Linked DNA regions of Homo sapiens: all the other regions are linked to region 2. Evidence: promoter capture Hi-C in 16 types of primary human blood cells and fetal thymus (Javierre and others, 2016). All regions are on one chromosome and are shown on one strand. The core of a region is centred on a gene start or on the middle of the fragment in contact, and the rest is flanking DNA. Distances in the headings are between cores, read along the strand shown. Region 1 overlaps ANKRD55 (ankyrin repeat domain 55). Region 2 holds the start of MAP3K1 (mitogen-activated protein kinase kinase kinase 1). Region 3 overlaps ANKRD55 (ankyrin repeat domain 55). Region 4 overlaps ANKRD55 (ankyrin repeat domain 55). Region 5 has its middle 16 kb from the start of ANKRD55. Region 6 has its middle 33 kb from the start of ANKRD55. Region 7 has its middle 50 kb from the start of ANKRD55.

The links. The method cuts DNA at HindIII sites, captures the fragments that hold promoters and counts their contacts. A CHiCAGO score of 5 or more calls a contact.
Region 1: a contact is called between a fragment that was not itself captured here and the fragment with the promoter of MAP3K1 in region 2, in 1 of 17 cell types (naive CD4 T cells). The highest score is 5.7, in naive CD4 T cells.
Region 3: a fragment that was not itself captured here is called in contact with the fragment with the promoter of MAP3K1 in region 2 in 1 of 17 cell types (neutrophils); the score reaches 5.3 in neutrophils.
Region 4: a contact is called between a fragment that was not itself captured here and the fragment with the promoter of MAP3K1 in region 2, in 1 of 17 cell types (naive CD4 T cells). The highest score is 5.1, in naive CD4 T cells.
Region 5: a contact is called between a fragment that was not itself captured here and the fragment with the promoter of MAP3K1 in region 2, in 12 of 17 cell types (naive B cells, neutrophils, total B cells and 9 more). The highest score is 11.5, in naive B cells.
Region 6: a fragment that was not itself captured here is called in contact with the fragment with the promoter of MAP3K1 in region 2 in 17 of 17 cell types (total B cells, naive B cells, activated CD4 T cells and 14 more); the score reaches 32.0 in total B cells.
Region 7: a contact is called between a fragment that was not itself captured here and the fragment with the promoter of MAP3K1 in region 2, in 16 of 17 cell types (naive B cells, total B cells, erythroblasts and 13 more). The highest score is 30.3, in naive B cells.

What each region holds. Positions count from the first base shown.
Region 1 is chr5:56,229,784-56,232,483 of GRCh38, reverse strand. All of the region lies in intron 2 of ANKRD55 (ankyrin repeat domain 55), which reads left to right. Among named protein-coding and RNA genes, the nearest start is that of ANKRD55, 2.2 kb to the left of the region's middle. The HindIII fragment of the contact is 2,795 bases long and covers 1-2,679 here.
Region 2 is chr5:56,814,148-56,816,847 of GRCh38, reverse strand. It overlaps MAP3K1 (mitogen-activated protein kinase kinase kinase 1), which reads right to left and starts at 1,299. Exons shown (of 20, transcript NM_005921.2): 1 at 793-1,299. The coding sequence starts at 1,274. RefSeq lists silencers at 202-441, 622-741, 812-1,581 and enhancers at 1-490, 1,942-2,071. The HindIII fragment of the contact is 8,983 bases long and covers 1-2,700 here.
Region 3 is chr5:56,149,321-56,152,020 of GRCh38, reverse strand. All of the region lies in intron 6 of ANKRD55 (ankyrin repeat domain 55), which reads left to right. Among named protein-coding and RNA genes, the nearest start is that of ANKRD55, 83 kb to the left of the region's middle. The HindIII fragment of the contact is 2,817 bases long and covers 42-2,700 here.
Region 4 is chr5:56,190,686-56,193,385 of GRCh38, reverse strand. All of the region lies in intron 2 of ANKRD55 (ankyrin repeat domain 55), which reads left to right. It also overlaps the pseudogene C1GALT1P2. Among named protein-coding and RNA genes, the nearest start is that of ANKRD55, 41 kb to the left of the region's middle. The HindIII fragment of the contact is 3,374 bases long and covers 1-2,700 here.
Region 5 is chr5:56,248,397-56,251,129 of GRCh38, reverse strand. No RefSeq gene overlaps it. Among named protein-coding and RNA genes, the nearest start is that of ANKRD55, 16 kb to the right of the region's middle. The HindIII fragment of the contact is 5,147 bases long and covers 1-2,733 here.
Region 6 is chr5:56,265,291-56,267,990 of GRCh38, reverse strand. No RefSeq gene overlaps it. Among named protein-coding and RNA genes, the nearest start is that of ANKRD55, 33 kb to the right of the region's middle. The HindIII fragment of the contact is 3,064 bases long and covers 1-2,700 here.
Region 7 is chr5:56,282,109-56,284,808 of GRCh38, reverse strand. No RefSeq gene overlaps it. Among named protein-coding and RNA genes, the nearest start is that of ANKRD55, 50 kb to the right of the region's middle. The HindIII fragment of the contact is 655 bases long and covers 1,078-1,732 here.

The DNA.
Region 1 (2,700 bases), core at 33-2,532, 580 kb after region 2:
AGGGTAAGCAATGTAAGAACACATCACATTTTTTTTGTCATTCGATTAGCCCAGTATCTCATTGCTGTATCTTCGTAAGCATTTTTTTATTCCTTTCAGGAATAGATGTTGCCTGTATTTATGTCGGGTTGATATGTTATCTCATCCAAGGTTGTGTAATGACATATCCCTATGCTATTATTTGCAATGCCAGGGTATATCTTCCTTACTTATAATTTCTGGAGTGGAGGTAATTTTCCACATCAAAATGTTGCTGTGAGATCAACTTATCCTTATAATATCACATATTTGGCCATGTGGTCTATGTGTATACATTTTGCATATGCAATGTGTTTATATACATCTTCGTGTAATACTTATGTGTAATAGTAAATCTTTTTTTAGTATAAACATGAAATTTCCATTTTATAAACATAATAAATATTTTTTAGAATCTTTTCTTAAATATCTATTATTTAAACCACTTTCTACAGTCTCTGAATATTCTTCAAGATCCTAAGTTCCTTTGGTGATTTTATCTGTTTTGGCTACAACATGAAATGGTGGTTTGAAAAAGCCTCATTAAGAAAATGTACTGCTTCATTCTTTTTTCCCTTTTCCTGCTCTAGGCCATAGCATGTTTATTACCCCTCAAGCTACATCTGGCTTTGTGGGTGAATTATTTTAGCCCAGGGGGTTTCTCCAAAAATAAATTTATATTTAGATTCCTGAGTTAGCTAATGTATATATGTGTATAGTGTGTTCTCCAGGTCTTAGCTCATTTGGAATAGTGTTTGTGTATGTGTATGTGTGTGTGTGTGTGTGTGTGTGTGTGTGTGTGTGTGTGTGTGCGCGCCTTCAGAACGTGCCGGCTCATACCGTGTTTGGATCTGAACAGCATAGAGAAAGGCGTTGTCACAGCTGTGCCCACCACCATCCTCTCCTCCTGGTACATTTTATATCACTGATGGCAGTCAGTAAAAGTGAAAATCTGCTAAGAACCAAAGAGCTCACACTGGCTGAAAAATGATGTTGCTAAGCCACGAAACATACAATGGGTTTATTTTTGAAGACTAATTGGAGGGAGCTGGGACTGACTGAAGAAGAACTAGCTCTTCATAATGAATTTACATGTTCCAGTGCTGTACCTTCTAACAGGATTGAGCCCCAAACATAGTTAAGATACAGAATTACAAGACTGATTTTCTTTTAACACCTTTCATGTGAGCAATTCACAGCAATTCCTCCACCTGGGCCGGATTCTCTCCCATGGAAGTTAACCCTCTCCCTGCCATCTTTATCTCTATTTCTCAATCCTTTCTCTCTTTCTAGAGGTTTTATCATATGATGGAAAGAGCATGGGATTTTAAATCTTATAGACGTAGATCAGAATGGCAGATCATCTACTTCTTAGCTGTGTGACCTTGGCAAGTTACCTAACCTCTCTGGGCCTTAGTTTCCCCAGGAATACAATGAAGGAAATGATGCTTACCTAGCAGGGTTGTTGTGAGGATCTAAAATAATAACATATAAAAAGCACCTGTTAGCAATGCCTGATATTCAATAAGTATTTTCCCATTTTGGCTGCAGCTGTTATTATTATTGCTGTTGTTATTATCACCTTGGACTGGGAGTTTCTGAAGTGCAAAAGACTACTCATCTCTCTACCTTCAGCCTGAATGTAGCAGTCCTCAGATCAAATGAGGGCTTAGTGCTGGATGACTAAATTACATTAATTATTTTTTTCAGAACCCTAGGATACCATTTATAGCAAGACCTAGAATAATAATTAACTAAGCCATTCCTGAATAGTTTTATTACCCATTAATCCTTCCTCTTTCTTAAAAGCATGAAAGACCATGAGGGTTGAGACCATTATACAGATTTTAAATACTATATTGTTGGACAAACCAAAGGGAGGTGACTTTCTCGGGAAAAGTTGAACATGGGGCTTTAGTTGAGGGTTTTTCATGAATCGTTACTGTCTGGATAAGTGAACCCTAGCAGTACTGTCTTTACATGCAGATGGGGACAGAAGACATTGCAGCTGGAAGAATCTTAGCAATCAAGTAACCTGTTGGTTCTCACATTGGCTGTACTTAAGAATCATCTGGGCCGGGCGCAAGGCTCACGCCTGTAATCCCAGTGCTTTGGGAGGCCGAGGTGGGCAGATCCCAAGGTCAAGAGATCGAGACCATCCTGGCCAACAGGGTGAAAGCCTGTCTCTACTGAAAATACAAAAATTAGCTGGGCATGGTGACACACGCCTGTAGTCCCAGCTACTCGGGAGGCTGAGGCAGGAAATCGCTTGAACCTGGGAGGTGGAGGTTGCGGTGAGCTGAGATCAGGCCACTGCACTCCAACCTGGCGACAGAGCAAGACTCTGTCTCAAAAAAAAGAAAAAAGAATCATCTGAAGAAATTCTGAAAATGCTGATGCTTGCATCCCACCCAGGGAGATTCCAGTTTAACTGCAGTGGTTGGCCCAACCAACACTCCTTGGGAAGTTCTCATGGACAGCAAAGATGCAGAACCAGTCATCCAACCTACCCCTCTTCCACATTTCAGATGAGGGAACTAAAGCACAGAGAGGTTCAAAGTTGGGTCCTTCCTAATAATAATAACAACACCCCACTAAATAGCAACAGAGGGGACTGAGGCCCAGGTGTTCTCCATCCATACAACAGGGCAATAGGAAGCTTCCTGCACATGGCCAATCCCT
Region 2 (2,700 bases), core at 50-2,549:
GTCACTCAAGTGACTTAGCAGTGCAGTTCGCATTCCCAGGAACACTCAAAGCCCCTTGGGGGCTGCAATTAGACAAACCGCACTTCCTAAAAGACTGCAAGCCTCCGCGAGTGTGCAGCCTCCCGCCGCACGGCTTTGACAGGCGTTACCGAGCCGTCCTCCTGGAGCCCTGCGGCCGGCGCTGGGGGCGCGCCGCCTGCGTCCGGGCCCAGCCCGCGGTATCTGCCTAGGGACTCGAGTCCCGGGCGGGCCGAGGGGCTCTGCCTGTCACGGCCGCTGGGACCTGCTACTTTCTCTTCGGTCCTCTCAGTCTCCCACCCGACCTCGGGCTTCTCACCCACCCCGCCCCTCTTCCGACCACCGCCCGCCTCAGGCTCGGGCCTCGCCCCCCAGTGCCTTTGCCCCGGGGACACCCGTCCGGGGGCGCCGCCGCAGGGCCGTGCCCCGCCCCCGGGCTCCTCGGAGAGCCCCGATTCCAGGAGTCCCACAAAGCCAGCCGTGGCCCCCTACACCTTTTCGCAACGGTTCCCCGCAGAGAGGCTCGCACGCCTGTCACATGTCTGCAAACAATAACAAACTCTTCCGCACGTCCCCGTCCGGTCCCCCAGGCTGGGTCCGGGGCGCCGCCCGACTCCGAAGGGGTCGGGGGGTGCTCAGGGGCGTAGGTCCCGGCGAGCGGCGCGTAGCCTCGCTGCGCTGAACCCCGGGACGCCGTGCATGGTGCCCGGGGTTCATTCATTGCCCTCTGCCCGCTCTCCAAGTCCCCGCCGCGACCCCGGCCGTGCTGCTCACCCGGCGGGGGCCGCTGCAGGAGACGGCTCGGCGGCGGGCGCCCGCTTCTCCCCGGGCTCGGCCGCTGCGGGACTCGAGGCGCCGCTGTCCGGCGCCGCCACCGACTCGGTAAGGTGGGCGCCGCCGCGGCTCGCGGCTCCGTGGGGCGGCGGCACCGCCACAGGCTGGAAGCCGGTCCCACTCCCCGCTGCGTCCGCGGGCTCCGGCGACGGGGAAGTCGAGGAGGCCGGCGGTGAGGCGGCAAGGAAGAGCGGCTGCTCAGGCAGCTGGTCCAGCTCCACACTCCGCACTTTGCGCAGCTGCCGCCGCCGCCAGTCCGCCCGCTCGCGGCCCCCGCTGCCCGCCTCCCGCAGCAGTCCCGCGGCAGCCGCGGGCGCGCTGCTCGCCTTGAGGGCTCCTCCGCCGCCGCCTGCCTCAGGGCTCGTAGCCCTGGCGCCCGGGAATCCCGACGACGAGGCGCGATTCCCCGCCGCCGCCGCCATTTTCTCTCGCGGGCTACATTCGCTCGGCCCCTGCGAGGGAGGGAGGGGGCGGGGAGAGCGCAGGGGGCGGGCACTGCGCCGCCAGCGTAAGGCCTCCTGCGCCAACTGCGTGAGCGCGGCCCGCCGGGCGCCTGGCCTGGACTGACCGACGGGCGGGCGCACTGGGTCCGGCCTGCGGCAGAGGTGTGGGTGGAGGGCGGCCCGGCGGCCGCAGGTGGGAGGGAGTGGGCTGTGCTCTCCGCCGGGCGAGAGGGCGGGCGGGCGAGGTGGACTGGGAGGCGGAGGGGGCGGGGGCGGAGGCGGAGGCGTGGGCTCCCGGGACTCTGCGCGCTGCACGCGCCGCGCCGCCAGGTAGTCCCGGCCGCACCGGCGACAGGAGGAGCCTTGGCGGCAGCGCTGCGCCGCTTCCTCTCGGCAATCTCGGCCCGGCACCGCGGAGCTCGCGGGAGGGGAGTTGCACCTTCCGAAAGAAAGAATTAGTTCCAACTTGGGTTTCTGGTGCTTGAAGGGGACGCAGGCGAGAGGGTTTACAGTCTGTCATTCCCACTGCCCTTTGCAGTGGGCGTCGGGGGACCCGGGCGTGGACCAGCCTCCCACCGACGCGCAGGTGGCGCCCGGGACCGTCGCCTGCTGCAAAGCGAAAGCAAGTCAACGTTCAGCAGACAGGCTGCCGCGGACCAGAAAAATAAAGTTTTGTTTGTGTTTTCTTTTGAAAAGAAAACATTCCTTCTCTATTGTCCCACCCCTGTCCCTGTGCTACAGATAACAAAACTTCAAAGTTTTCTGTAATACCTTACATCCTGAAGCTGCTGATTTGGGACAACTACCCCCTACCCTCACCAAGTCCCCACAGCCTCTGAGAAACCGTTGGGGCGAGGAAGGGAGGCGGGTGTCCCCGTCGATCTTTAGTTTTTCCTTGGCTGTCTTTGGGAAAGGCAGTCCCGTACAGAACCACATATAGCGCGTTTGGGGAGGGGACCAGCGCTGTGCCAGGAAGTGCTCGGTAATGTCACCCTCGGCCAGGTCCCGGCCCTCCCCGAATCCGATGCTTCTCGCCGCACGTCCTTCTTCCCTGCAGGGTCGGGCCACCGGCCGGGTTCCCTCTGTCCCCACTCCTGCAGGGCCTGGCTGCCCATCGCTGCGTTGTGAGTCCTCCTAGTCCCTGGACTCTACGTGAGAAGGTGCTTTGGGATGGAAAAAGCAACATTTACACGTTAATGATTTTTGACCTTTTGTCAACTGAGGAGAACTTCTGTGTTGCGTTTATTTCTTCCTTCCTTTCCTTTCCTCCAGCTGGTTTGTTTAGGATGGGGAATCTCCCAAAACCCAGGAGGAACGTCTATAGATTTACTTTGTGAAACATGATTAAGGAGGGGGGAGGTTGGGGTGGGGGGGTGCGGATTCTCACGGAGATAGTCTTGTCAGT
Region 3 (2,700 bases), core at 201-2,700, 660 kb after region 2:
TTGTATCCCCAGTTTCTAGTTCAGTAGCTTGCACAAAAGCTTTAGTGAGGCACAAAAATTTTTTATATATATATACACACACATATATACATATATACATATATGTGTATATACACACATATACGTGTGTATGTATATGTATATATACACACGTATATATACATATATATACACACACACATATATATATATAGATTTTTTTTTTTCCGAGATGTGGTCTCACTGTGTCACCCAGGCTAGAATGCAGTGGCACTATTTTGGCTCACTGCAACCTCCGCCTCTTGGGTTCAAGTGATTCTCCTGCCTCAGCCTCTTAAGTAGCTGGGATTACAGGTGCCTGCCACCATGCCCGGTTAATTTTTGTATTTTTTGTGGAGATGGGGTTTCACCAGGTTAGCCAGGCTGGTCTCGAACTCCTGTCCTCAAGTGATCCACCTGCCTCGGCCTCCCAAAGTGCTGGGATTATAGGCGTGAGCCACCACGCCCAGCCTAGATATATATTATATCTAGATATGTTATATCTAGGGAGAAAGAAAGAATTAAATTCAAGAAAAAGTCATGTTATTTTATTTTATGGCCCTTTCTTCTTTTGTTTTGTTGACTCAGCTATCCAATTTATTTCCCAGACTTGACTCCAGGTGACTGTTATTTCCAAAACCTACTCTCAAAAAACTAAGATTTTCATGGTATTAGAGGTGTTTATGAGATATAAATAAGTAAATAAAATTTTATACCAATTAGAATTTTTTAAAAATGTCCTGTAGACTTTAGAGCAGGAGTCCTTACCCATATTTATGACATGGACACATCTTCATGTGTTTGTGAAACCTATGGATAACTTCTCAGAAACATACCTGAAATTAGGCTGGGTGCAGTGACTCACACCTGTAATCCCAGCCCTTTGGGAGGCCGAGGCAGGAGGATTGCTTGAGCTCAGGAGTTCAGGATCAGCCTGGGCAACATGGCTAAACCTCATCTCTATTTAAACTTCTTTTTAAAAGGAAAAAAATATCAAAAAGGAAAAATATCTGAAATTACAGAAAATGAAACATATAAGATTGCGAAAGAAATCAAAATATTAAAATACAGCTATCAAAACATTCTTTTATTTATTTATTTATTGAGACGGAGTCTCGCTTTGTCGCCAAGGCTGGAGTGCAGTGGTGCGATCTCAGCTAGCTGCAACCTCCACCTCCAGGGTTCAAGTGATTCTCCTGCCTCAGCCTACCGAGTAGCTGGGATTACAGGCACCCACCGCCACACGTGGCTAATTTTTGTATTTTTTAGTAGAGGCGGGATTTCACCATGTTGGCCAGGCTGGTCTCGAACTCCTGACCTCAAATGATTCATCCACCTTGGCCTCCTAAAGGGCTGGGATTACAGGTGTGAGGCACCACGCCCAGCCTATTTATTTATTTATTGAGACGGGGTCTCACTCTGTGAGGCCAGAGTGCAGTGGTGCAATCTCAGTTCACTGCAACCTCTGCCTCCCAGGCTCAAGTGACTCTCCCACCTCAGCCTCCCAAGTAGCTGGGACTACAGGCGCATACCACCATACCCAACTAATTTTTTTTTTTTCTGTAGAGGCAGAGTTTCACCATGTTGCCAAGGCTAGAAAACATTTTAAAGACCAAATTTATGATAATAACATATAAGGTTGTTTATTAATGCGTTAAATAAGATTTGATGGTAGGAGCACAAACTGCTACAATTGTTGAAGTAGTGAGACATGTAGTGATCTGCAATCACTAATGTAATAGCACTGTACCTATAATTTATAGAGGTGGCAAAGTCACAGGTACTGTTTATACTACTGTGGGTTGTTGCCTATATTCATAATTGAAAAAGATGTTAAATTTCAATTAGAAGTTAGTGAAAATAGGCCGGGCGCAGTGGCTCACGCCTGTAATCCTAGCACTTTGGGAGGCCAAGGCAGGCGGATCATGAGGTCTAGGAGTTCAAGACCAGCCTGGCCAATATGGTGACGCCCATCTCTACTAAAAATACAAAAATTCAACGGGCGTGGTGGCTCGCACCTGTAGTCCCAGCTACTAGAGAGGCTGAGGCAGGAGAATCTCTTGAACCCAGGAGGTGGAGGTTGCAGTAAGCCGAGATGGTGCCACTGCACTCCAGCCTGGGTGACAGAATGAGACTCCGTCTCAAAAAAAAAAAAAAAAGAAGTTAGTGAAAATAAAGATGTAATTATTTCTCTGATGAAACTCACACATCCTTATTTCTATCCATGGATAGAGCTCTTGCTCTAGTGGCAATTTCCAAAAAAAAACCTCCCAAAAGTATTTTGAGCAATGAGTAGAATAATTGTATAGCCTCCCAAGGTGATCTCCTTGGAACAGGAAGATTGTTTTATTTTAATTATTCAACAAATATTTGTTCAGTACCTGCCATGTCTCATGTGGGCTTCATCCCTGCTATGATGGAGTTCACAGTTTAGTGCAGAAGAATGTAGATGTTCTTTTTTTGTTGAAAATTAAATCTATCAACTTAGGCTTCTATTCTGAAGGCTTTGTTTTATAAGTTTGTTCTTGTTAGAATTGGCTCCTAGACTTCTATGGCCTAAGTTCGTTTTATTGTTTTTCTTGTCTGATTTAAATTATGAAAACTCCCATTCTAAAGTCTTTTTTTAAAAATGTCAGACATATTATTCTTATAATTATTACAGGGAGAAAGTGAGAGTTTTTA
Region 4 (2,700 bases), core at 35-2,534, 620 kb after region 2:
AGATAACCTTTATTAAATGGTGTTCTGAAACAAAGGGATGAAAAGTTTCTTTTCCAGTGGGATCTCTGGAATCTCCTGCTTCTACATTTATAATTTCCATGCATCTCCCCAGTGCTAAGTCTTCAGTGGAGGAACTATGTGACACTTGTCTGTTTTAAATGCATCAAGAAATCTTTTCAAGGCTTTCTTTGCTTAGTAAATATCCTGCTCCTCCACTCATACAGCCCTGTTTTACAAAGGGCTTAAATCTTCTCCTAAAATAAATGTGTTCTTTAGAATCATATTTTGAAAGAAGCCATCTCAAATTATCTAGTATGAAATATGTGTCATCATCTGCTTTCAAAAACCAATCAGCATCTTCTAAATGATGTTCATGAACATACTGAAAAGGTTTAATTGTTTTCCAGTATAGCTCATCTCTGCCTGCTTTGGTTTTCAATCCCACAGCACGGAAGTCTTTATTTTCTTCTGAACTCATAAAAAATACTTTTAGACAACGCTGGGCCCATGTAGCTTTGACATGTTTGGCCTTTTTCTGTAGGTTTTGAGAGCCTGTCATAACCCAGCAAAGAATTTTAACTTGCTAATAGAGGTTTTCAGCGATGTCTGTGTTCTCATCTTTACGTTGGCTAGAATCTGCATTGAAGTTCATTTGTCCTCCTAGATGATTCTGTCCATTATCATCTGAATGCCTCGCATGAGGATCATTATGAAGAACATTAGTCTGGGTGTCACCCTCTTCTCCCAACAAAATACTAAGTAGCTGAGAAAATAAAATAAACCCTATTGCCGATCCATAGAGGAAGGTTAAAAAATTCAGCCAGGATTTAGAGGCCATCTCGGAAAGTGTATTTCTGTCATCGGCCGTGGCTCCCTCTTGCCCCTCCTGGGGGGCAGAGAGGGCGACGACATGGGACCGGCGACTTTTGCTTCTCTGGGCACCCGCAGAAGTGGCTCCTGGCCGCTAGCCGAGGCCGCCAACTGCCGCCCAGATCAGTCTCCGGCAGCAGCGGCAGAGTTTTAAATAAAATATAATCTGCGTGTCTTCACATGCTTCTTTCTTCCTATTTCTTCATGTTTCTTCCATTTTCTACCCTCAGAGTCTCTCACCCTGTGTGTATTCTGGAATCTCTCTTTATGCACCCGTACAGAAGTCTATCTGTTTAAAGCAGTGAGAGAGGCAAGACCATTCAAAACATGCTCCTCATGTAAGCAGTGTGGAAAGAAACATAGATGACAAATAGATGAGAAAGAGAGAGAGAGAGAGAGGAGCAATAGGAAGGAGACAAGGAAGGACTGAGGTATTGTTTGTTTATGTAGATCTTTTAGACATCTTAATAAGTGGGTTTCTGATTGTCAGTAGAAAAAAACTTTCCTGCTCTCATTTTAGATTCCATTAGGACCATCAGTCATACTTTTCTTTGTACTTGTTATTTCTACATCATGCTTCCTCATTTCTATAGAAATTCTCTGTACAGTTTCTAAGTTTGTGCCCAATTATTTGCATTGACCGCAACTTAGATTGGCTCTTTCTAAATAACTTCTAGGGAAGCTCCTTCATTTCCTATTTCCTTGTTGTGCTGTGGTTTAGTGTACATCGCAGGGCCAGAAGGAATTCTGAAGTACATGCTATTCTGCTTCACACGTCTTCCTTTTCCCCCTACACTGTGCTTCACTTTATGTCTAAATTCCTTCTAAACAGGTTTGGTGGTCATCTAGCCAAGAGAGGTCATCTTCAGTGACAGGAAGCTCACTACTTCTTGAGGTGACTCGGTCCATTTTTATAAGCTCTAATAATAATTAGAATACCTGTCTCTCTGTCACTCTCACCCACTGCTATTTCTAACTACTGGAGTCTCACACAGCAATTTAACCATAAAATTGTTTGCATAAAAGCCCTTCGAAAAACAACTCTATTTACAATAGTATGAGAAAGAATAAAATACTTAGGAATAACCAAGGAGGTAAAAGACTGGTACACTGAAAACTACAAAGCATTGCTGAAAGAAATTAAAGAAAACACCAGTAAATGGAAAGACATTTTATGTTCCATGAATTAGAAAACTTAATATTATTAAGATGCCAGTACTACACAAAGCAATCTACAGATTCAATATAATCTCTGTCAAAATCCCAATGATGTTTTCTACAGAAATAGAAAAATCATCCTAATATACATATTGAATTTCAGGAGACCCCAAAATAGCCAAAACAATCTTCAAAAAGAACAGTTGGAGGTTTCACACTTCCTGATTTCAAAACTTACTACAAAGCTACAGTAATGAAAACAGTGTGGTACTGGCATACAGACAGACATATAGATCAGTAGAATAGAACTGAAAGTCCAGAAATAATCCCATACATTTATGGTCAACTGATTTTCCACAAGAGTGCCAAGACCATTCAATAGGGAAAGAATAGTTGCTATGACTTGAATGTTCCCACTGAAAGTTGTGTTGAAATTTAACTGTCATTGTACCAGTATTAAGAGGTAGGCTTTTTAGAGGTGATTGGAGCACGAGGGCTCTGCTCTGATGAATTGATTAATACTGTTATATTAGGAGTGAGTTAGATATCTTCTGGCATGGGTGCCTGATAGAAACAATGAGTTTGGCCTGATTTCCTCTTCTGTCTCAGATGCTCGCTTCTGCCTTTCACCCTTCTGCCATGAGATCATCCTCACCACATGTTGGCATCATG
Region 5 (2,733 bases), core at 216-2,715, 570 kb after region 2:
GGCCCTAGGTGACCTGGATCCTAACTTCCATCAGAACAGTTGTCCATCAGAGCATCTGCACAGTAGTACTTGCCCTCAGCAGCTAGGGAGCTAAAGCCAGATTACATTGGATCAAGCAGAGATTGGGTGGTCTGGAAAGGAAATAGCAAATGTAGCCTTTTTATTCCCAAAATCATGTCAAGAAACAAAGAATAAATCTGTTTGAAGAAACATCACATCATCACAGTTTTGTTTCATTTTTATTTTTTTAAGGCCTGAAGAAGGATATATGTGTAGGCTAAGGAAAAGTTTCTTGAGGAGGGAAAAAGATGAAGTTGCAAAAGAGATGGAATAACTTGGCCAGGCGCAGTGGCTCATGCCTATAATCCCATCACTTTGGGAGGCCAAGGCGGGTGGATCACCTGAGGTCAGGAGTTCGAGACCAGCCTGACCAATGTGGCATGGTGAAACCCCACCTCTACTAAATACAAAAATTAGCCAGGTGTGGTGGTGAGTGCCTGTAATCCCAGCTACTCAGGAGGCTGAGGCAGGAGAATTGCTTGAATCCGGGAGGCGCACGTTGCAGTGAGCCAAGATCACGCCACTGCACTCCAGCCTGGGCAACAGAACAAGACTTCATCTCAATAAAAACAAACGACAACAACAAAGAGATAGAATAACTGATGGAAATCTTAAAGGTAAATGTCTATCAGAATTACGATGTAAGGCATTGCCCTAAGAACTTGACATATTTAAGTCAATTTACTTCACTCAAAAACTTTATGAAGAAGGCACTAAGATATTCTCATCTTACAGATGAGGGAAATAAGGCGTAACTGAGATAGCATCACGTTATAAAACTGGGATTAGAATTTAGCCAGTCAAGCTCCAACGCCCATGTGCTTAGTGGACTGTAGGTTGTAAATCTACCTCTCTGGGGAAAGTTTTTGTGTCAAAGGAGGCACACTAATTGCAGCCTAGCATTCTCAAAAAAGAAAAGACACTTCTTTCTTTTCACCAGAAGGCATTGAAGAGGAGTCAGGGGAGGAAACAGAGAAATGTAGAGGAATAGAAAAGAACAGTTAAAGAAGAATGAAAGATCTATTGGTGTTGGAATGGCTAGGCTGATTGTTAATGTCCCTTACGTTCAGAATAGTAAACCCATGTTTTCAGCACAAATGCACCAGAGGGAAATTACCCCCCTACTTGCTACGGGAGCTGCCATCTTCCAATTAATCTACCAGCTACGATTATTTAGAAAAATGTATGAAAGCTGTAACTGGGTCACAGGCTCATTTTATATTACCTATATACGTACATTGTGTTCCTCCCCATGCTAATTTTGGCATATTCATTATAGTACAAACTTTGGAGAGACAATAATATCTTGGGATCCATCCTTAAACTGTACAGCTTGGAGTCCTGCTTCTTGTGATGGAGATCAAAACGGATGGAGCAATGAACTCCCAAAACTCTGAAATTACACTCAGTGGTTTCCTTGGCAAGGTGAAAGAGCCAAGCATTGACCAATCATGGGATAATGACAGAATATGGTCATACCTCATGTAGCATCCAGTTTGAGAGACCCCAATTTACCATTTCTTGAGAAAAACCCAATTACAACATTTTTTGATAAGAAAGTTCTCTAGACAGCTCTAGACAGTGCTAGTGAGAGGTAAAGCAGGCTAGGCTTCTGGGTCGGGTGGGGACTTGGAGAATTTTTCTGTCTAGCTAAAGGATTGTAAATGCACCAATCAGCACTCTGTGTCTACCTAAAGGCTTGTAAACGCACCAATCAGCACTCTGTCAAAAGAGACCAATCAGCACTCTGTCAAACGGACCAATCAGCACTCTGTAAAATGGACCAATCAGCTCTCTGTAAAATGGACCAATCAGCAGGATGTGGGTGGGGCCAAATAAGGGAATAAAGCAGGTCACCTGATCCAGCAGCTGCAATGCTGTTGGGTTCGCTTCCAAGGTGTGGCAGTCTTGTTCTTTGTTTCTTCCCAGTAAATCTTGCTGCTGTTCACACTTTGGGTCCACACTGGCTTTTCGGGCTGTAACACTCACCTGGAAGGTCTGCAGCTTCACTCATGAAGCCAGTGAGACCACAAACCCAGCGGGAGGAATGAATCTGTAACACTCACTGCGTAGGTCTGTGGCTTCACTCCTGAAGTCAGCGAGACCACAAAGCCGCCAGAAGGAAGAAACTCTGGACACGTCTGAACATCTGAAGGAACAAACTCTGGACACAACATCTTTAAGACCTTTAACACTCACCATGAGGGTCCGCGGCTTCATTCTTGAAGTCAGCGAGACCAAGAACCCAGAAGGAACCAATTCTGGACCCACTAGCACACCACGGCCTTGTTACCCCAGTTTATCCTCACAACAACCTTTCAGAATGGGTATCATGATTATCTCCAGTATACATACTGGAGAAATACTTAGATATGTTCTGTAATTTTTCTGTGTGTGTAGAACTAGAATGGGGCAGAATTCTGAGGAAGCTCTGACATGTATGGCCCTGATAACATCTAGCCATTAGGTGACTCCATTTTTACCTGAAAATAGACACGGGGATTCAAGGTGGTCAGAGTTGCCAGATATTAACCAGTGTCCACCTCTGGCTAACCTCTGTTAGAGATTGATTTTCTGAGGCTCTTTGGGAGCTTAGTTTATATTTATGAGTTTTTACTGTTCAGTAGTGAACCTCCATGGAGAAGCCCTTAAGTGTATTTTTTTTTTATTTAG
Region 6 (2,700 bases), core at 140-2,639, 550 kb after region 2:
TTCAGGGAGTATATAAGGCAATGAATGCAAGGGTTGCAGCAAAGAAACATGGGACACAGTCCCTGAATATAAGAAGCTATCTACCTAGGAAGATGAGGCCCAATCCGATACAAGCAATAAAGAAGTATCAAGTAATCTCTTTACTGATAATACTGATCAGGATAGTAATAGTGGCAGTGTATTGAGTGTTTACTCTGTTCCAACGACTGTGCTAAATGCTTTATATAAATCATGTTGTTGAATCCTCAAAACAACTTTATTAAGTAGGTACTATAATTATTGCCACTTTAGGGGTAAGGAAACCAACCCACATAAAGTTTAAATCATTTGCCAGGATTTTATTCCAGGCTGTCCGACACCAAAGACCATGCCTTTAAATATCCAGCAATCTGTAATGCCTCATAAGAGCAAAGGGAGTTCAAAGTGGGGAGATCAGCATGGGATGGATGAGACCTTCACGGAAGAGGGATCCTGGAGATGTAGATGTGGTTTGGGGTAAAGAGAGGATGGAGAAGACCTTCCAAGGAAGGAGGGAGAAGGAGAGGGAGAGCACACACAGGCTGAGAAGTGAAAATGCACAAAGCTCATTGGGGTCCCAAGAGTTACCCTGCTGCCACTGCACACCCTTTTTGCATGGATGTTAGTGGGTGGATAATGGTGGTCAGGTGACAGAAGCACATGGAAGTTAGGATTATGGAAGGGCCTCCTTGAAAAAAGCCTTCAGAAATGAGAGGGAAATAAAAACAATTGAAACCAAAACAAAGTTGATGAGTGGAACCTAATTAAACTAAAGAGCTTTTACACAGCAAAAGAAACTATCAACAGAGTAAATAGACAATCTAGGGAACGGGAGAAAATATTTGCAAACTATGCATCTGAAAAAAGTCTAATATCCAGACTCTATAAGGAAATTAAACTAATCAACAAGCAAAAACCAAATAACCTCATTAAAAAATGGGCAGAGGACCTAAACAGACACTTCTCAGAAGACATGCAAGTGGCCAACAAACATATGAAGAAATGCTCATCTGGCTGGGTGCGATGGCTCATGCCTGTCATCCCAGCACTTTGAGAGGCCTGGGCAGGAGGATCACTTGAGGTCAGGAGTTAGAGACCAGCCTAGTCAACATGGTGGAACCCCATCTCTACTAAAAATACAAAAAAAAAATTAGCAGGGTGTGGTGGCGCACTTGTAATCCCAGCTACTTGGGCGGCTAAGGTGGGAGAATCATTTGAACCCACCTACCTGGGAGGTGGAGGTTGCAGTGAGCTAAGATCGCGTCACTGCATTCCAGCTTGAGCAACAAAGCGAGACTCCATCTCAAAAAAAAAAAAAAGTTCATCATCACTAATCATCAGAGAAATGGAAATCAAAACCACCATGAGACACTATCTCACGCCATTCAGAATGACCATTACTAAAAAGTAAAAAAAAAAAAAAAAACAGATGCTGGCAAGGCTGCAGAGAAAACGGAATACCTATACACTGTTGGTGGGAATGTAAATTAGATCAGCCACTGTGGAAAGCAGTTTGGCGACTTCTCAGAGAATTTAAAACAGAGCTACCATTCGACCCAGAAATCCCATTATTGGGTATATGCCCAAAGGAAAATAAATTATTATACCAAAAAGACACATGCACTCATATGTTCATTGCCATGCTACTCACAATAGCAAAGCCATGGAATTGACTTAGGTGCCAATAAATGATGGACTGAATAAAGAAAATGTAGAACATATACACCATGGAATATTCCACAGACATAAACAAGAATGAATCATGTCCTTTGCAGCAACATGGATGGAGCTGGAGGCCATAATCCTAAGTGAGTTAATGCAGGAACAGAAAACCAAATGCTGCATGTTCTCACTTAAAAGTGGGAGCTAAATATTGAACATACATAGACATAAACATGGGAACAACAGACACTGCAGACTACTAGATGGGAGAGGGTGGGAGGGAATGAGGTGAAAAACTACCTATTGGGTACTATGCTCATGACCTGGGTGCAGTCCATTTATGTAATAAACCTGCATATGTACCCCTGTATCTAAAATAAAAGTTGAAATTTTTAAAAAATCTTTATAAATCTAGATAAGAAACTGTTAACTTTTCACCATTTAACAAAAGTAAATGTCTTACAAGAAAAATGTTTTAAAGGGATAATCTATTGTCTAGAAGAAAGATGACAAAATTATATTTAAAAAGAGAAAGAAAGGGCCGGGTGTGGTGGCTCACGCCTGTAATCCCAGCACTTTGGGACACAGAGGCAGGAGGATCACTTAAGGCCAGGAGCTCGAGACAAGCCTGGCCAACATGGCTTTCTACTAAAAATACAAAAACTCAACAGGCGTGGCGGTGGCACCTGTGGTCCCAGCTACTAGGGAGGCTGAGGCAGGAGAATCACTTGAACCCAGGAGGCAGAGGTTGCAGTGAGCCGAGATCATGCCACTGCACTCCAGCCTGGGCAACAGAGAGAGATTCTGTCTTGGAAAAAAAAAAAAAAGAATGAATGAATGAATGAATGAATGAAATTGGAGATGAAGAAGGCAACATTGAAGCCAGGACAAACAATAAGTAAATTACTTCAACAATTATCCATGTGAAGTGACAAAGGTATGTACTTTGAGAAGAGGGCAGGAAATTCCAACCAGAGATGAGGTGTCACCAGTGGGATCTGGCTAAATTCTAGCCCCAGA
Region 7 (2,700 bases), core at 156-2,655, 530 kb after region 2:
AGAACCTCAAGGATGGCGCTTCTGAAGCAAAGTTAAGAAGAATCTGGGCCGGGCACGGTGGCTCGCGCCTGTAATCCCAGCACTTTGGGAGGTCGAGGCGGGCGGATCATGAGGTCAGCAGATCGAGACCGTCCTGGTTAACGCGGTGAAACCCTGTCCCTACTAAAAATACAAAAAATTAGCCGGGCGTGGTGGCGGGCGCCTGTAGTCCCAGCTACTCGGGAGGCTGAGGCAGGAGAATGGCGTGAACCCGGGAGGCGGAGCTTGCAGTGAGAGATTGCGCCACTGCACTCCAGCCTGGGAGACAGAGCAAGACTCCGTCTCAAAAAAAAAAAAAAAAGAAGAAGAAGAATCTGCAGAGGCGATGGCCCACAATGCCAAGTGCCACTCTCTCTGAAGTCAAGGAGATCAAGACCAGGTAAGAAGCCACCGGGATGGACCATTTGGAGTCACTAACAGTTCTCAATGGGCAGGTAGGTTGTGCTGGGGATGAAAGCCTGAATACGATGGGTTAAGAAGTCAGACTGGGAAGAACTGTTCTGGAGGCAGTAGGTGTCTGTAAACTGGGGCCCAGAGTGTTAAACCTGCCCAGGATCACAAGGTTAGTTAGTGACAGAGCCAGGACCATTATTTGGATATGTTAATCTTTTTTCCTTCATACCACACTCCTTGTAGATATGCAAAATTTTCTTTCAAGTTTCTTTCAAATAATAGATCCATTTAGCTTTGTGTGATATATAGAGGAAAGGATGGCTGTCTTACATATGTCTGACTTGGTGAAATTAATATTTCCCTTGGACATATGATGCTTAACAATCTCACTGAAACAACCTCAACAGGTTGTTTCACTGTCACCTGCCTCAGGCCTGAAAAACCACAGTAAAAAGCTTATTCAGTGCAAGATCTAATCAATGCAAAAATCAGTCAAGACTAAACCGATGCGAAATCAATGCAAGACTAGCTGGATGACTGGATCCATGCAATCCCTGGATCTCCTGAATACCAGGAACTCTACTGACCTTCAGCTGCCCACCCACAGGCATGGTGACACTCTGGGCTTGATCATCACCTGAAGCTTTCCCTCATGAAACCCTGACCCCCCATCTCATCTCCTCATCCCTCCATATCTGCTCTTCTACCTCAGAGACACCACAAGCCCCTGATCCTCTGTCTTCTCCTAGTCATCAGCCTGCTCCAGCCTGAACTTCATTGTTGATCACAAGTCCTCTTCTCTCACAGATTCTTCAGCTCCCTCACACCACAATCCTCCTACTGCACCTGCCCAGCAAAACATACAGGCTGGGCAGCAGCACCATAACCAGCCTCATCTGCTCCTTTCACCCTGGCTGCGAAGGCCAACACAGCATCCTGGACCTCCAGCATCAATCTATCCAATAATCCTTTGATTCATCCAGCGTGAACTCCCTCACCTTCACCAAGCCTCAGCTCAGTCTTCACAAGACCTCTCTCTCCTTCTCTTACATCACACCTGGCCTCCTAATGCACCAGGAGACACCAAGGTGATCAGGAAGGACCCGTTTCACCTTCCTGCCCCCTTCACTGTAAGTACATTTACATTCACACTCATCCATTTTTCCTTTTCCCTAGCTGCTGCAGCTTAGATCTTCCTCTTCTTGTTCAGAGTTAACCTTTGCCCTGAGCCACATTCCTTTCTTTCCAGGTGCTACACGCCCAGCCTCTTCCTCCCTCTGGGATGCTTGCCCCCAAAGCTTATAATTATGAGAGCACTTCTCCAGGTCTGAAACACCCACCCCTTGATCAGGTGCTCCTCTAGCTTCTATCAAATCCCTTTCCTCCCCTTCTCACCCAAACTTTCAAAAATGTAGCCTACACTCTTTCTTCTTCCTCATTGTCCATTCCTCAGTTGCTACAGCCTGGCTTCTGCCCTCCTTCCTCAGCTGAAACCAGTCTCCCAGGCTCCCATATGCCAGCTAATGGGCACTTCCCCTCCTTCCTCAGCTGAAACCAGTCTCCCAGGCTCCCATATGCCAGCAAATGGGCACTTCCCCTCCTTCCCTCACCAATCCCTCTGCTTTGTCTACGTTGTTAATGACTCGTTAGTACTAAAAACTCTCCTGGCTTCTATGACCCTACACTTTCATGATTCTCCTCCTCTTTCATTCATTCATTCAAACAAAAAATCACTTATTGGCACTTACTATGTGCCAGGGGTTGCAGGGATCTAGGGGTGAGGAAAACAGACATAACGCCTGTCCTTGTACACCACACTGTCTAGTGGGAGAGACAACAGTAAACAAGACAGGAAACAGTCAATTCTTGTTATTCAGCCTAGTTATGGTCTAGTCTATAAAGTCTCTGCAGACAATGAATTAGTGAACACTGAATCACTGCTCCTGGGAAGAGCCAGGCTCCTTCCAGCCTCTGGTCACAACATTTCATAAACCAAACAATACATGACCTTGTTTTATATGTGTGTCTTTTACAGACATCTTATTTAATGTATATTTATGAGTGATTAATTATATGCAGCATGTTTTAATAAAAAAAACACTAGCTGAGAAGAGTTTAACATTTTCCTGATCCTGAGTAACAAGATTTCTTCCAGGTCAGAGTCTCTCTGTTCATTATAATCACTTCCTGAGCTGCTTTCTCATCTTGCCCTAGCATTCAGGACCAGTGGCCTTAGATTGATGCTTTTATTAATTTGCTGGATTTATT